Linked DNA regions of Homo sapiens: region 1 is linked to region 2. The links are contacts of gene promoters, found by promoter capture Hi-C in blood cells and fetal thymus (Javierre and others, 2016). All regions are on one chromosome and are shown on one strand. The core of a region is centred on a gene start or on the middle of the fragment in contact, and the rest is flanking DNA. Distances in the headings are between cores, read along the strand shown. Region 1 holds the start of TMEM170B (transmembrane protein 170B). Region 2 holds the start of EEF1E1 (eukaryotic translation elongation factor 1 epsilon 1).

Region 1 (5,763 bases), core at 2,319-4,818, 3.4 Mb after region 2:
CCATATCTGAGCATGAACTTTAAATGCACCTGTGTAGTTTAGCCCTGCCTCTCTTGTCCATGCCAGAGCTGGGATAAGGATGAGGTGGGTGAGACAAGGTCTTGCAAGTGCAGGGTGAGATTCTGTGTTTATTTAAAATTTTGGTATTTCATTAATCATGGATTTTTGCATGAATTTTTATTTTTAAAAATATTATATTAGTATATTATTTATCTTGATAACAGAGTGTTTCAGAGTCTGTTGTCAAGACTTGCAGGCAAGGCTTTGCAGGCAAGGCCAGTGTCCCATTGTAGCCCTGGTTCCAGCCCTATACCATGAGAATGGCATGTACTCAGAGCGTGACATCTTCCTCAGCCTCAGGTATGAAATGAGAAGACCTGTGGAGCTGGACTGAGCTGAATCAAGCTGAATCAGTCTAGATTTTGGACTTGCATGGGGCCTGTAGCTCCTTTGTTGTGGCCAATGTCTCCCATTCGGAATGGCTGTATTTATCCAATGCGTGTACCCCCATTGTATCTAGGAAGTAACTAACTTGCTTTTGATTTTACAGGCTTATAGGCGGAAGGGACTAGCCTTGTTTCAGATGAGACTTTGGACTGTGGACTATTGAGTTGATGCTGAAATGAGTTAAGACCTTGGGGAACTGTTGGGAAGGCATGATTGATTTTGAAATGTGAGGACATGAGAGTTGGCAGGGACCAGGGGAGGAATGATATAATTTGGCTCTGTATGGTTTTATCAAGGGTCTCCACTTTTGCGTCTTCCTCATTCTCTCGTTGCCTGCTGCCACCCATGTAAGACGGGACTTGCTCCTCCTTGCCTTCCACCATGATTGTGAGGCTTCCCCAGTCACATGGAACTGTAAGTCCAATTAAACCTCTTCCTTTATAAATTGCCCAGTTTTGGGTATGTCTTTATCTGCAGCGTGAAAATGGACTAATACGTTAAGTTGATACCAGTAGAGTGGGGTGCTTCTGAAAAGATACCTGAAAATGTTTTTCTCAAAAGATCAATATCATTTTATATTTTAATTGATTTTAAAAAGCTTTCCTCTAGGTTGTCTCTGGACAGTTTTAAAAATGACTAAGGCTAATGGGTGTTCCCTCACTTACATGAGAGAAATAAACCAGGAATTTTGGTTTATGAATTACGTTTGTGAATTGTTTCATGCTGAAGGGCACAGAGTTGAAAGGAAATTTTTGGATTCACTTGGGGTGGTCCCTGATTTCTGACAGGAACGTGACTAAACTCTTCCTGAATTGGTGTATTAATTCAAAATAAAAAATCTGTAGGAAAGAAATTCCAAAACTTTCATTTGTATTAACTCAGTTTTGGGTTTCATAACTCTGGCTGTTGGGAAAATGTCTAATTCTCTTAAGGATATAAGCTTCCAACACAGTCAAGATCATTACTTTTATCAAGGAAAACCTAAGTAGCCTAGAGAGTAGAGATCTTATCTTCAAATGTTACAGATAACACCTTGCACAGAACATTACAGATAGTAGATGCCAAATAAATATAGACGCCAATTAAATTGAACTGAACAGCAGGGGTGAAGTTGTTGGGCAGCAAATAACATTACTGACTTGAGACTTCATTGCTGTGTCTTTCTCATTTCCTGACATGAACACTTGGATTCTGTAAAAAATATTTATTCAGAACAAGAACAATGCTGACTTTTCTATGAAGATCATTCAGTGATTCATTCAACAAATATTTGTGGTGCAGGTGCCAGGCACTGTCCCAGGTTCTGAATATTTTCACTGCGTGCTACTGTGTTTTAAATAATAGTGTGCAATCCTAAGAACGTAAACTAACTAAAGGTTTCTGATATGAGAGTTTAATGAGCCCCTGCTCAGGGAGTTTGCTGTGAACCCTTCACTGAATGTGGTCACATTCCCTAACATCACTAATTATGTAATGCCAAGTCCCTTAAGAATATCATTAGGTAACCTGCACTTCCCCATCAAGAATCTTAAAGTGAGGGAGTTAACAGTGGGTTAAGAAAGATAATGTGGTTGCTAGAAAGAATAATAGACCAGGAATTCAGAAACTGAGCTGTGAAGTGCTGTCATCTCTGTCAAGTCACTTAATTCACAGAATCTGTTTCCCTATCTGTAAAATAAAATTAGAAAAATGTTAAAGCGCTCTTTTAGGTTTGATATTCTGTAATCTTGTTAATAGATCTAATTAAGTCTAAATTCTAGGAGGAAGATAAACTCTACATTAAGAGTTTTGGCTCAATTCCTATTAATGGTGCAAAAATTTCTCTTATGTTGTGACATCAAAAAGAAAATACAAATAAACAAAGAAATAAATGTGTATGTAAATATTATTTTAAAGTGGTCACCAAGAGCACCATTTGACAGGTAATTTGACCCTTCAGTGCTTTGTCAAATATACTTCATGATTTAGCTACAGCAGGTATTTCTTCACTTCTCTTTGTAAATTTTTCTTTATCCAGATGGCAGAGGGGTTGAAAAAAGGTGGGGGGAGGGGCTGGCTACTGCATATTTATGTTACTGCTAAAACTTAAATTTTTATTTTTTAAAGTTAGAAGGTTTCCAATTTCGAGGAGTTTAACTTGTAGTTGGATTTTAGATGCTCCTCTGGCTAACGCTGGACATGAAGACAGACAGCAAAGCGTGGGGAGAGAGATCTAGTTTAAGTTCGAGGGAAAAAAATAACAGACGCAACTTAGATAAAAGAATACTACCATCAAAAAAAGGGGGGCTAGAGCCGGCGATGGCCTTGAGGATTAGGACACCTGCCGAGCCTGGAGTAAACAGGTAATGTCAGGCAGGTCCTGGAACCCCGGGAGGCCCAAGTTCTTGCTGCGGGAAGAGGGATTAGCAGAATGATAACGCAGGTCTGTTTGTGTTTTAGGGGTTTTAACATGCATTCTGCAAGTAAGTGACCTATCCAGGTCATTCGATTCAGGCTCAGAAAAAAAACCCCGCAAATTAATATATCTAAATGCTGAGATAGTGACACCTTTTTAAAAAAGTTATACATAAGCATCTTTATCAAAAAGCATTACATTTTAAGGCAAAAATCTGAACTGTCACAGTATCCACCTCACCGAGTTCAGCAGCCCCACCTTGGGTCAGGGCTGCCCCTGCAGCGCGGGCCCCCGAAATGCCCGCACCGCCCACGCCGCCCGCACCGCGCGCACCCAGCCGGGCCAGGGCGAGGGATCCAGGTCTCCCGGTCTCTCAGGGCGCGCGCCCGGGGTCCGGGGGTGGGGGGCGTGGAGGCGGTTCCCTTGGAGCGCCCAATCAGCAGTAAGGCCCGGCGGTGGCGCCAGTGACGTAGACCGCGCTTCCCTCCGCCCCACTGCGGGCCGTCGCTCGGCGCCGTCAGCCACGCGCGCTGCAGCGCGAGGGGAGAGCGAGAAGGAGGGCTTTGGGGCCGACCGGCTGTTGGAGGGCGGCGGGTCGCGGGGAGCGGGGGAGTGAGCATGCGCAGCGGCTCCGGGGAGCGCAGGGGAGGAGGGGCCGGCGCTGAGAGGCGCGCGCGTGCGCGTGCACGAGTGGCCCGCCGGCGGCTGCGGGTGGAGGGGGCGGTTCCTCGAGTGTCGGCGACCCGAGGGCGGGCAGGCGGGCGGCAGGTGCCGCCGCAGCCTCTGGCTGGTCCCGCGTCTCCGTCCTCCGGCGGCGATGAGCTGGGCCCTGTCGGGGGCTGCACCTGCCGGCTGCCCATCAGCACCGGCCTCCTGGCGTGACCTCGGCCTCCTCGCGTGTCCAGTCCCCGCGGCGCGGCGCTGCCCCTGAGAGGGAGCGGCGGCGGCCTCCTCCGCCCCGAGTCCTCGCTCGGGGGCCGCGCGAGGACGGCGCCCGGCCCCCTCCCCTCCTTCCTCCGTCCGCCGTCCTCAATGTCTCCCCGGCGGGGAGGGGGCTGCCTGGGAGACACGCTGAGCGGCCCCCCCACGGAGGCCCTCCGGCTGCAGCAGCAGCAGCGCCCGGCCCGGCGTCCCGCAGCCTCCACCAGCGGCGGCGGCCTGGAGGAGCCGCGCACCCGCCGCCGCCCCCCGAGCCTCGCAGCCGCCGCCGCCGCCCGGCACCCGAGGAGAGGGCGGCGGGCGCCCCTCGGGGAAGATGAAGGCGGAGGGGGGCGACCACTCCATGATCAACCTGTCGGTGCAGCAGGTCCTGAGCCTCTGGGCCCACGGGACGGTGCTGAGGAACCTCACGGGTAATTGACGCGCCTGGGCTGGGGACGGGGATGCGGTCCGCCCCTCTCCTGTCTTCTCCTTCCTCGGGAGGGGACACGCTCCTCGCCGCCCCACCCCCGTGCGCGCCCCGCTCGGAGCTCCAGGTCCCGGCGAGGAAGGTGTTAATCGGAGCCACTCTGCGCGTGTCCCGGGGGCGCCGGCTCCCGCCACCCCCTTCCCTGAGTCGCCAGGGGAGCATCAGCGACCCCCGCTCCTGCCCCGCACGGGGAGAGCTCCCGGTGGCGGCCCGGCCTCTGTAGTACGCGCGGAGTAGCTTTAGTGCTGAGACTTGAGCGCATTTCGCTTTTATTCCATTACCCTCCTCCCCTCCCCCTTCTACACACATCGCTTCTTGCTATTTACATCTTTTTCTGATTTAGTTCTTTTTCTTTCTGGCAAATCTCAAGCCAAATGTAGAACCTAAAATCATTGCCCACAATGGTCGATTTACTTTTTCAACCGCTAATTTTTTGGGCGATGTAGATAACTGAGTAAATTATAGTGGGTCAGGGGCTGAGCTAAGGTCTAGTGCGGTCTAAGCGTGTTAGCTTCATATATCTCCTTCCCCTCCCATTTCCTTTTGTCTGTCTGTCTCTTTCCCTCAGGCCTCCAGCTGCTGCTTCTGAGACATTTGATAATTTTGTGTATTTCCCTTCATTTATTAAGGCTGTCAGTAATTGGCCTTATAACATCAATTTCTATTTGTAAAAGTGAGTGATAAAACACACAATATTTTTATTCAGTCTGTAGATTTGCTTTGTGAAGAAACTTCTGGTTTTGTTATGTGGAAATGCTTACATTATACTTTGAGTTCCGAATTTAAAAATTATTCTCTGAAGTAGAATTTACGAGAAAGAGATTCAGTTGCGATTTGGTGACTCCTCAGTGCCTGCTTTTCAGAGGAAAAAAATCTTAAAAAAATACTCAGAATTTAATTCTTGAAAATGTGTAAGGCAGTTAATTTCAGTAGAACATTAGTATTTCAAAATGCATTTTGTCAAACTGGTTAAAGTGTTGTGAGTATTTTACAAATATAACCTGGGTTCATATATATAACATATATATAAAGTCTGGCATGGTATAGAATACAAACATTCATAGAAGAAAATTTTATGGAATTATATACCACAAAAGACAACTTTAAGGACACTGGTTTCTTCGAATGGAAACTATACAGTTAAAGTAGATTCTGGATTGCTTCATGCTATCCTCACTTTTAAGCTGTGGTTATTTAACTTGAAACAGACTGACTTTACATGATGATTGCCGGTAAGGAATATATTGTTATAATTCTGGAAAACTAAATGGACATAAAGACCATCTCATGATTCAGTTGAATTTAGAGGTAGACTGCTTTATCTTACTTATGATTTTGCTTGCATTTATCCACTGTTTGGTATTTGAACTGTACCAGTTTTTGTTTAAGTGAAATGAAAAGTAGGGACTTAACATATATTTGTGCAGGCATACCTTGGAAAGATTGCAGGTTTGGTTCCAGAACACCACAATAAAGCAAATATTGCAATAAAGTGAGCCAAATGAATTTTTTG
Region 2 (5,907 bases), core at 1,917-4,416:
GTAGCCTGAAGGAGCAATAGGCTATATCATATACCTACTATTTGTGAAGTAGGATAAACTATCTAGGTTTAAGAACACTCTAAGGCTGGGCGCAGTGGCTCACGCCTGTAATCCCAGCACTTTGGGAGGCTGAGGTGGGCGGATCACCTGAGGTCGGGAGTATGAGACTAGCCTAACCAACACGGAGAAACCCCGTCTCTACTAAAAATACAAAAATTAGCCGGGCGTGGTGGCACATGCCTGTAATCCCTGCTACACGGGAGGCTGAGGCAGGAGAATCCCTTGAATCCGGGAGGCAGAGGTTGCAGTGAGCCGAGATCGCACCATTGCACTCCAGCCCGGGCAACAAGAGTGAAGCTCCGCCTCAAAAACACACACACACACACACACACACACACACACACACACACAAAAAAAAAACAGAACCCTCTATAATGTTCACACATGATGAAACTGCCTAACAATGCATTTCTTGAAATGTATCCTTGTCTTTAAATAACACGTGACTGTATGTCAATGTGTTGATGTACCATAATTTAAAGAATCAATATCCTAGATAAGGATCTCTGAACTGCTTTCAATTTTTAAACTATGATTGGTAATGTTGCAGAGAATGCCTTATTGCTGGCTCACTGCTGTCAGCTGTCTTCTCAAAAAATGGCTGAATCTTATCACATATGGCCAACCCTTTCCCCATACAAGTAAACAGAAACTTTCACTAGCTGCTAACTGCTAAAATGCTTTAATTAAAATTAAATTAAAAACCACACTCTGAACTCGGAAGTCTTCACAGTTGGGCCTCAAACTGTAATTTGGGGTTTACCTTGCATTGCATCATTCCTCATATTGGTTTACTTACTGCCCTAAACTTCCCAATCCTTCATAATTTATTGGTTTTACACATCTTTCAAAGCATAATCCCTTAAATGCCAGCTCTTCCATGAGTTTATACATCCACTTTTATAGTCAGAATTAACTTCCTTTTTCACACTCCTCAACAGTGTTTTGCTCCATATGGAGTCCTAATTAGGGAAAAGAAGTCAGGTTGAGGGGACCAAGGGAAAGCAAAAAGAGAAGGGCGATAAGCTACAAGTCTGCCTTTCTTCATGGTCCAGGACACAGCCCTTCTGCACAAATAACTCAACAATCTTTCCATGTCCAGCTATCACCGGACCTTCGGCTGATAGAAAACTCAAGTTAGCTCACTGCAACCTTGGTGTTATCAGTACTGCACAAACCCCTCTTCAGCACACAACTGAAGTACTATTCCGTAAAATCCCCAGCCAGCCTTTGTTTCCTTGCAGTTAGCTCCTCTCTTACTAACTTGCCTGTTGCACTCTTGCAACATATTTTCATACTTTCTCTAATAAATCTGCTTTTCTTTACGTACAGCTGTCCTGGTAAATTCTTACCCTGGCGCCACCAGCCCCAGAGAGTTGCTGCTCACCCACGACAGTCCATGAAGTGCTTACTATGTTGTGCTTTAAATTATTTGCTGATGATTGTTTCTCATACTAGATAATACTCATATCTTGGCAATGGTCCCTAAAAAATATAAACTAGGCCAGGCACAGTGGTTCACGCCTGTAATCCCAGCACTTTAGGAGGCCAGGGCATGTGGATCACCTGAGGTCACCAGTTCAAGACCAGCCTGGCCAACATGGTGCAACCCGGTCTCTACTAAAAATACAAAAATTAGCTGAGCGTGGTGGCGAACACCTGTAACCCCAGCTACTTGGGAGGCTGAAGCAGAAGAATCGCTTGAACCCGGGAGGCAGAGGTTGCAGTGATCCGAGATCATGCCATGGCACTACAGCCTGGGCGACACAGTGAGACTTTGTCTCAAAAAAAAAAAAAAAAAAATATATATATATATATATATATATATATATATATATATATGGCACTCTTCCAATTTAAACGGTTGCAATGTTTGTCCACTCGGCCATATATATTATATTTATACTACATATATATTATATAATATATACACTAAGCTAGGGAGTAGGGGCCGAAGGGACGGAATTATCACTGGGGCAGAGGAAACACCAAAAGAAGGCCACTTTGGCTCCAACGCCTACTCTGCCACCAATCACAGGGCTGATCTTAGGCTGAACACTTAACCTTTCTAGGCTTCAGGTTAACTTAAATAAAAACTATACTACTACTTTCTAGACAAGATCTTCACATGGACCAAATGAAGAAGAGAAAAAATTAAAGACAAAAACCAAACATCATTTGGAAAAAATCTCAAAGGAGCAAAAAAAACATATATCCAAAGTAGTCTTCCTACAACCAATTTCCTTCTCTAATACATTCCTTCTACGACAAACAACTATAAAACACAAACGTTCTAACAGTGCCTAACCAGGCAATCTCATACCTTGTGATGTTTCCCGCATTCACTGTGGGTCGTAACACTTAAACTGATAATCCAAGGCTTTAGAAACGCCTTCCCCGAATCCCCTAGATTGGGCCAAGACTCCTTAGGTGTTCTCTCTGCCATTTATGGTGCAACGTGGCACTCTTCCAATTTAAATGGTTGCAATGTTTGTCCACCTGGCCAAAAAGCAAGCTGCCTGAGAGGAGGAAGCATGTTCCCCTAAATCATCATTGTATTCCCCAGACCCAGCACGGTGCTACCTGGCACCCTGTTAGCTATAACGGAGTCGCTGCGCAATAACTGAATGAAAGGTGCGATTACGGGAAAAAAAAAAAAGCCAGTTACTGAATACATTCCAGGTTGGTCTAAGAGCCCTGTGAGGACCCTCCTCCAACTGGTTTTGTTTCCTCATAATGGGATGATGACAATTTCCCAGGAGGTGAAGTTCAGGCCAAGCCCAACCTGAGCTGGTTAACCCCTCCCTCCAGGAGGTAGGATGGCAGGGGCCGAGGCCCAGAGGCGCCAGCCGGCTAGCGGCGCAGACACGTGGGGAGCTGGGTAGCAGCATCCTCACTCCGCCCGTATCTGGTGGCCGGCCCGGGTCCTGCCAGGGCTCGGCAGGCCCCGCTCCCGTCCACCTCTTCCCCTCCGCGCCGCCTCTCCTTCTCACCTGTCGCTCGCCCTGAGCACTGTATTTATTCCCCTTACTCAGTCCCAGGGACTTCTCCAGTAGCGACAACTCTGCGGCCGCCGCCATCTTCCGGCCGTAGCTCCTGGCAGACGCGAGACCTGCAGAACAAGAACCTCCCGCATTGGTGGAAACAGAAGTCCCACTCCTGCAAACTTCAGCGGCGATTGGCTGAACGGAAGGGGCGTGGAGAGCGCGCGCCAAAGCACAGGAGGCGGGGCCGGTGGAAGGGGCGGGGCTGAGGGCGGGGTGTGAGACAGGTGGAGAAGTGATGGTAAATTTCCACTCGAACTGTTGGGGAGCTAGTTACTGGTAGAAAGGCCCCAAGGCCGGGCTTCGGTGGCTGCAGTAGACTGGATCTGGATCTCTAAATGGCAATCTATTGACATGGCTGCCAGCGGTAACTCGTTAACTCATTTGCTAGTCTAAGAGAATTTATATATGATGGGAACTGAAATTTGCCTTAGTTTGGTTCAGGAATCTGTAAATTTGAACAATCAAATTGAATAGCAAAAAGTTCACAGTCCATTAGGAGTTTCTAACGTGTAGCATAATTCATGAGGATTTTAATTGTGTTGTAGTGGTGAATTCGAAAAACTGGTTTTTCTACTGTTGATCTACAGCTCAACACTAGCAGTAGAATTATACATTTAAAGATTATTCACAGAACACGGAGTATGTCAGATAGGGGTCAAATAATTACAGCTCAAGGAAATAAGCCATTAATGGCATTAATGATCTTTTTTTGCAGTACCAGAAGGCTGGTTACATAATTTATGAAGTTTTGGTATATAAATAAACAAGGTGCATAACTTTGCCCCACTAACTTGCTACATTCTTGTATCTTCAAAAAAGAAAGAAAGGAAGAAAGAAAGAAAATTAGTAGTATATGTTGAATATTTCCAAAAGATTTGTGAAAATACAAAATATTTTCCACTTTGAAGAATGAATAAACAAAGTGTGTATTAGTCTGAGAGAAATAGAACAATCCTACAAGGTAACTCATCATTGAATCAGAAATATCAAAGTTTAGTGGGGAATGTTGTTACTGTGTTACACCTTCCCTATCCCAGAATACTTAATGAGTTTACTCTGTCAGCAGAAGTAAACATAAGGAAAAGAAACTTTTGCCAAATCAACATAACAAAATACAAAAGAAATTTCAGTATAAGTGGATTGTTAGGCACTAAATTATCTGTTTTACTTTCCATATTCAGATAATGGAATGACTATTCTACTACTTTTTAAAAGACCAACCCTCTAAGATAATTCACATATCCATTTTCAGGGTTTAGGTACACTTTTTGCTTGTAATAAAACATTTTTTAAAAAAATTAACATTTATCCAATGCCAATGGGTGGTATATTGAAAATAAGGTTTGGCCTTTGCATAATTATAGAAATATCAAATTAAAAAAGAAATCCCTAAAAAACTGAAAGCAGAACAAAGCATATTGTACATCAAATTGATGACATCATCACCCAGTGTGGACCTCTTTTAAGTGACTTTATAGCACAGTCATTTAATTGTATACTCTTAGTAAGATATGCTTTAAGGACAAAATTCATGAAAACCTGTTTTTGGTTCTTTTTGTTTGTTGGTTTGGTTAGCATCTTGGCAGTGTCAGCATTGGTATGGTGCTGTATATGTACTGTGGAATAAAGCAAAGATGCAATCATGTGGTGTTGCTGGAAAGTTGGGTGTTTGGTGTTGCCCAAAAGAGGAGTTGTAAGGTAGATGAGGTTAAATCAAAACTTTCTGGTCCTGAATTTGAATTGTAATATCAATATGAACTTATGACGCTTTTATCTTAAGGAAAATGAAAAGTATTTCCTACCTAGCTCTGTTTACTTAAAAGGCCTAGAAACAAGGACAACTCAGTAGCAATGAGCACCCCAGCACCCAGATTCTGGTTTCAAATACTATTTCCCACAAAAAGAAATGGGGGCTCTTTGGAGACCGGCTGAATCCAAACCTTGCGGGGAGATCAGTCTGGACCATCTAGTTATAGTAGAAAGAAAAGAAAGTATCTAAGAGTAATGAGGGGAGTCAAAGGGTAGGATCAGATCACTTGAGGGTCAATAATAGTCATTACAAGCTGAGAGTCGATAAGAATAATTGCAATGAATTGAAACATGTTGAATATGTTTAAGTCTATGAGTTCATAATGATACTAAAAAAAAAACAAGAACAAAATCAAAATAACCCTCATTCGTTACCTTTGGAGGATACTAGAGATCCAATTCATTATTTTGAAAAAGGATAAAGAAAACACATGAAGAAACCAATATATTTTTTCATGATTATCCTATGTAAACTGTATCTCAGGGAAACTAAACTCTAATGAGGAAAAATGTCTTTATAGAATTCTAACTAATAAAAACAGAACAATAGAATATTATTGTTTTGCAGCTACGGATATAATAATGAATCTAGGTGACAATTATCAATAGCTATTCACATCATAAAAACAGAGACAAACAGACATAAATTGCTTCTGAGAGAGGTGTACATCATCACCCAGTCTTGCCAATCGAATCTGAATTTGACCAAGCCTTTTGATCTAACAGCCAATTTACAAGAAATAATAGCAGGAAAGAGGATCATGTTAAATGATGTCATGGAGATGCAATGAGCAAATTCTAGATCATGAAAACTATAGGACAAATGATCCAGTTGTTTCAACAAGTAAATTGCAAAGCAAAAAGAAGAGGCAGAGAGAAGTGAACCTGTAAGTTGAAAGCATTATAAGGGAACTGTCAACCAATTGCAATATATAAATCTTTTTTTCAAGTCTGGTTCCAACTAATAAACTGTTAATTTTTTTAAGTGGAT

The links. Contacts are between HindIII fragments. The CHiCAGO score rates a contact against its expected background, and 5 or more counts as called.
Region 1: a contact is called between the fragment with the promoter of TMEM170B here and the fragment with the promoter of EEF1E1 in region 2, in 2 of 17 cell types (total CD8 T cells and non-activated CD4 T cells). The highest score is 6.7, in total CD8 T cells.

What each region holds. Positions count from the first base shown.
Region 1 is chr6:11,534,181-11,539,943 of GRCh38, forward strand. It overlaps TMEM170B (transmembrane protein 170B), which reads left to right and starts at 3,569. Exons shown (of 3, transcript NM_001100829.3): 1 at 3,569-4,194. The coding sequence starts at 4,098. RefSeq lists silencers at 3,033-3,862, 3,893-4,052, 4,153-4,232, 4,243-4,522 and an enhancer at 3,862-4,363. The HindIII fragment of the contact is 5,632 bases long and covers 1,386-5,763 here.
Region 2 is chr6:8,099,382-8,105,288 of GRCh38, forward strand. EEF1E1 (eukaryotic translation elongation factor 1 epsilon 1) reads right to left here and starts at 3,167. Exons shown (of 4, transcript NM_004280.5): 1 at 3,054-3,167. The coding sequence starts at 3,140. It overlaps EEF1E1-BLOC1S5 (EEF1E1-BLOC1S5 readthrough (NMD candidate)), which reads right to left and starts at 3,214. Exons shown (of 7, transcript NR_037618.1): 1 at 3,054-3,214. RefSeq lists silencers at 2,566-2,751, 2,960-3,079, 3,220-3,419. The HindIII fragment of the contact is 8,997 bases long and covers 1-5,907 here.